2 separate regions of the Homo sapiens genome follow, and region 1 is linked to region 2. Evidence: promoter capture Hi-C in 16 types of primary human blood cells and fetal thymus (Javierre and others, 2016). All regions are on one chromosome and are shown on one strand. The core of a region is centred on a gene start or on the middle of the fragment in contact, and the rest is flanking DNA. Distances in the headings are between cores, read along the strand shown.

The links. Contacts are between HindIII fragments. The CHiCAGO score rates a contact against its expected background, and 5 or more counts as called.
Region 1: a contact is called between a fragment that was not itself captured here and the fragment with the promoter of NPTN in region 2, in 1 of 17 cell types (naive B cells). The highest score is 5.1, in naive B cells.

What each region holds. Positions count from the first base shown.
Region 1 is chr15:72,272,494-72,275,193 of GRCh38, reverse strand. It overlaps PARP6 (poly(ADP-ribose) polymerase family member 6), which reads left to right and starts at 2,640. Exons shown (of 24, transcript NM_001323532.2): 1 at 2,640-2,700. RefSeq lists enhancers at 2,138-2,227, 2,288-2,337 and a silencer at 2,478-2,700. The HindIII fragment of the contact is 1,151 bases long and covers 875-2,025 here.
Region 2 is chr15:73,632,014-73,634,713 of GRCh38, reverse strand. It overlaps NPTN (neuroplastin), which reads left to right and starts at 1,325. Exons shown (of 9, transcript NM_012428.4): 1 at 1,325-1,589. The coding sequence starts at 1,499. RefSeq lists silencers at 1,169-1,468, 1,549-1,808. The HindIII fragment of the contact is 2,824 bases long and covers 1,050-2,700 here.

The DNA of each region.
Region 1 (2,700 bases), core at 201-2,700, 1.4 Mb after region 2:
AGAATGGGGGATGGTGGGAGAGGCTGACATGGGAAGGGTTGCTGGGTACACTGAGGACTCTGCTGAGGAGACAATGAATTTGTAGGAGCTCTGTACTGAGTGCACATTAAGTTAGCTTAAGCCATTTATTCTAGATAAAAACTGACTCCTAGTCCCTCAAGATCAGAGGGCCTCAGAAAGTGCCTTGGGCAGGGTATAGTGGCTCACACCTGTAATCCCAGTACTTTGGGAGGACAAGATGGAGGACTGCTTGGGCCCAGGAGTTCAAGATCAGCCTGGGCAACATAGGGAGACCCCATCTCTGCAAAAAAAAATTAATTAGCCAGATATGTTAGTGCATGCTTAAGCCTTGGAGGCTGCAGTAAGCTATGATCACACCACTGTACTCCAGCCTGAGTAACACAGTGAGACCCTGTCTCAAAAAAAAAAAAAAAAAAAAAAGAAGGAAGGAAGGGAGGGGTGCCTGGGAAGCTGCCAGAAAGCAGAGAGTAGTCTCACCATTTCTGGTCTCTGCCTCTCCATGCTTCATTCTGTGTCCCCAGATGGTCTTTTTCCTTTTCTCATTCATCATAGTAGGTGGGAGGTAGATGTACCATAGCTCCTAAGTCTATGTCTCTTTTGCTTAAGAAACCAGTCCAGTTAGAATCATAATCTGTCAGCTCTAATCCCAGATTTTCAGGAGAACATCTGTTTAACACAGCTTAGACCAGGAATCCACTCACAGTTCAATAAACTGCAGCTAAAGTGCTAGAGGTCACACAAGACGAACATGGCCCTGGGGCCTGTGGATCCATAGTGTGGGTGTGGAAACGATAATTCCCACAGAATAGGGTTCATGGGCTAGACTAACCTAAATGGTGTCCACTCACAAGCTTAAGTGTGCAGGATTGGATGACTTCCTTTATCCTGGTTTAGGATGGGAGAGTAGAGAAGGTAGATAGCTGGCATGACCCAGGAGTGTGATTTTTACAGAGTAAGTGCAAGCATATTAACAAAGATGTGATTAAAATGACTGACCAAGGATGTGGACTGGGTAGGAAAAGAGGTGAAGCCTGGAAGATACTGGTAAACTATGAGGTGGCTGAGATTCATGATGAATAGAAGAGCTAGTGGTGGTATGCTGGAAAGGGGGAATCCTAAAGGTTATTGAATACTGGAGTTGGACTTGTCACTCATGGGCACAGTGCTTATGTTCAAACACTCCCATACATACTTGGTTCTCAAAAGCTATTACGGGGCCCTTGATGGTGAGTTGTTTTAGAGAGCAGGCCTGACTCCTTCCCCTACCACTCTGAACTTCCGCACTCTGAAACCGAGGTTATATTGATCCCTCACTTTTTTCAGTTACTATAAGCAGTAGATGTAACAAACTCACACCGAGACGGTGTTGTGGCCCAGGCTGAGTGGCAAGGTGAGCAGAGGGGGACATCAAAAGGGGAAGGAGTTAGAAAGGAGAGGCTGAGAATGTGCAAATGTAAATCAACCAACAACAAAAAGTTAACTGGGAAACTTCTGAGGCCAGCTTAGGAGGGATAGACATGACGTGTTTATATCATTCAGGGCCAAAGCCTTCTTTGTGTGTACTGTGTCCAGCTACAAAGAGGGAGTGAGGAAACAGAGTAGGTCTAAGATAAGCCTTTTCCCATTAGTGTTGATGGAAAAGAGGGTCACGTGGAAGCCCCAAGACTAATAAGGATGAAGGAGATCTGGCCATGTCTAGGGTTAATAACCACAATAACCACAATTACAGCTTCCATGTATGAACTACTTCCTAGTCCCAAGTACTCTGCTGGTTACTTTACATGGATTAGTTGGAATCGTATGAAATTGAAGGTATCTGACTGTTTATAAACTGCAAAAATAGCAATTTCCTACGGTTCAACCTAACACTATCTCAGTTCATCCTCACCACAACGGCTCCGTGAAACACATATTACTGTCTCCACCTCAAAGAGGAGAAATCAGATTCACAAAGTGAAAGTCATCGCTTAAGGCTGCACCATCAATAAGTGCCGAACCCAAGCTTCAGACCCAGATTGACTAGAAGGCCAGGGTGCTCTCCATCACGCTGCAGCTACCGGGGAACAAATGAGTTAAATGCCAGAATTTTTAAAAGCCCGAGGTGTTCGACTTCCATTGTCGAACCAGAGAATCCTGCAGTCAGCAAGGCCTCAGGACTTCCCTCAGTCTCTACCTGCCGGCCCCAACCTCCGGCGAGGGGACTCCCTCCCGGCCTACAGGCAACCTGGGTTGCCCTTCCTGCTTGTTCCTCCCAACCACTCGGGGCGCTAAATGCAAGTATTCTCCTTTGGAAGGCTCCCCGCACTCCCCCAGAGTCCCTCTTCCTTCTCCACTGCCTCCCCTACCCACGGCGCAGGCGCCACCCCCCACTCCGCACCCTTTCCCGACTAGCGACCGCCGCGCAGGCGTCTCAAGGCTGGCGTCGGCTGCTGAGGCGCGCCCAGGAGCAGGCCGTCAGGCTGTTGGTCAGGAGCGGGCCACGTGCCATCGTGTCACCGCGCGAGCGTGCGCAGAGTGGCTGAGCGCGCCCGTGACGGAACGACGAGGCGTGGGGTGCGCGACCTCGCCCGCCAGGCCCGGCCCCCGCCCCTTGGCCTGCCGCTCCGCCCCCGCGGGGCGTCCCGGGCCGCTCGTCCCGTCGGCTGCGGCCGCGCGCGGCCCGGGGTCGCCGTGAGTACT
Region 2 (2,700 bases), core at 76-2,575:
CCAGATGAAGGTACATGCCAATCTTTTTGTCACTCACACACCTGAGGTTTTGAAGGACATAGTTTTCACTTCAATCAACAACATGCCATAGTGGTCCTGGCCTTTGCTAGAAATTTTGGTCTGGAACCACCAGCTGTTCAGTTCCTGTTGAAAGTTCCAGACCACTTTAGCTTGATAGAGATTGCGAGGGTCTCCTTCTTCCAGGTCCTCCAAACCCTCTCTTTAAATCAAGTCAGGCCACCAGGACTGTTTACTTGGCCCCTCAGAGTTTCCACAGACACTCCCAGGACGTCTGCTGTGAGTCAGGGATGAGCTAAGCCATAGAAATTCCTTTGCCAACCACAAGCCCTGAGGGTAGTACAAAAAATACCCCTAAAAAGAGCATTTCCCAAACTTCTATGCAAACAGTAGTAACCACACTGCCAATCACCCTCCAGAGTGCTTTGCTAGATCCTTTCCTATGGGGCCATTTGACCCTTCCTCACTCCTCTGCTAGCCTAGGCAGTGCACTCCATGAGGACGGGGACTACCTTTTCATGTGGGTTTCACTATGTGCCTGGCACACAGCACGTTCTCAATAAATGTTTTCCGCATTAAGACGCTTCTTAGGAGTCTTCATGTAAGTTCATACACGACTTCCTTGTAGAATTGTGTCAATGAACATGCAATTAGGCTAGCTGAACTTCAGGCCCTGAGAGTCTATGAAGCTAAAATAAGGCCCAGATGTGGGGTGGGAGGGGGAGTAGGCAGAGGCGGCAAAGGAGGACATTTCAGGCAAAGGGAGCAGATGTCCAGGCAGGAAAGCACAAGGTAACGGGGGCACAGGGGGCGCACCACTTTTCCTGGAAGGAAAAAACAGCAGATGAGAGAAGGAGGTTGGAGCCAGTTACCAGTAGAGGTCTATGTTCAAAGTCCAGAAGGAAGAAACAGCAGGACGGGGACAAAGAGAGGAAGGAGGAAAGGAGGCACGGTGTATGAAACTCTGTAGCCAAGAGCGCTAACAAATGAAAGGCAGGATGGGTGGAGGAAATGTACTGTGTTCCAAAGCTTCCTCTTATTTATGGGTGCTCCCGGGCCACAGAGGAGTAAACTGAAGGACTTCCCAGCTCCCCACTGCCCAGAGAGCTAGCGGAGTCCCGCCTCGCCCCGTCACATGGCCAGAGGCGCCCTCGGCACGTGACCTACCTCGCGCTAGGCCAATCAGCCTCTGCAGGGGCGGGGCCACCGAGTCCGCGGGGCGGGAGTCTCCGTCGGAGCCGCCTCTTCTCGCGATCCTTGCGGCGGTCGCTCCTCAGCCGCCCACGACCCGGAGCGAAGGTCTCGCGAGGCCTGGGCGCTGCGGCGGCAGGAGGAGGACGGGGAAGGACGGAGCCGAGCCGCGGCTGCCTCCCTCGCTCACTCCCTCGCGCACTCGCCCGCCCCCTCCCTCCCTCCCCTCCCTTCCCCGGCCCCGGCTCTGGCCCCGGCCCATTCGCTGTTGGGTCTTCTGCTAGGGAGGATGTCGGGTTCGTCGCTGCCCAGCGCCCTGGCCCTCTCGCTGTTGCTGGTCTCTGGCTCCCTCCTCCCAGGGCCAGGCGCCGCTCAGAACGGTAAGCGGGGCGCCGGGGGCGGGCCGGGCGGGGGTTGAGGGGCGCCGGGGCCGGAGGGGGCCCGGCTCTGGCCTGAGGAGACGCTGGAGCTCGGGGAAGGGGGCCGAGTGGGCGTCTGAGGGGCTGCGGGTCCGAGAGGAGGTACCGGCTGCGGGTTTGAGGAGGCGCGGGTGTGAGGACCGGAGGCTCCTATCCGAGCGGCGGGGGCGTCCGGGGTGAGCCCGAGGTGTTGCCCACTCGGAGGCTCCACGTCGTGGGGCTCGTCGTGCCGGGTCGGCGAGGGGACACGGAGGAAGCCGACGTGGGGAGCTGGAGTAGCGGGGGCGGATGAGGAGGGGGCGCAGCTCTTAGGGAGGGTGGCACAAGACCGGCGTTTGTGTTCCGGGCGACGGGGATGGTGGTGTCCGTCAGGCCCCCCGGGAGCTGGGGTCGTCCAGGATTCTACTGAGGCCCCGTAGGACTGGTGACATCCTTAAAAATAAGGGGGAAATTGGGGGGAAGAGAGTCCTGAGGAACACTAATGGTGAGCTGAGTACTAGAGACCAAAGGAGGGGGTAAAGAATCAGGGAACCTTGGATCTAGGGATAGAGGGAAGGTGGGTGGGAAGATGAGGGAGTGGGTTGACTGCAGTAGGGGACCTGGAGAGAGAAGCAGCAGTGTCTCCAAATGAGCTGGGGGAAGAGGGCTGGGTTTGCTAAAGAGGGTGGAGTGCTGGGCATTCTAGGGTAGTGGTTGGGAGAGCAAAAAGGAGTTTCTAAATAAGGAGAGGAAAATGAGCAGAGGATGGAGGGAAAGGGTTGGAACTGAGGTGGGGGAATATTTATTAGAGAAGTAAGGAGGCCTGGGTATAGAGATGGGGGTGGGGGAAGACGAAAAATAAGGGAAGGGAGTAAAATGCAGGAAGTCGGGGGTGTAATGTTGGTTTGCAGTGTGGAGGATAAATTAGGGAAGGGAGGAGTTGGGATGTGGCAAATGCTGTATGATATTGGTCGGGCCTTTGGGAAAACAGGGACACATAGCTGCAACTAATTGCAGTGGTGGGATTGAGGGCAGTGACTGGCGACAGGGAGATGGGGAAGTGGATTTTTGAGATTTAAAAGTTTCAAGACAG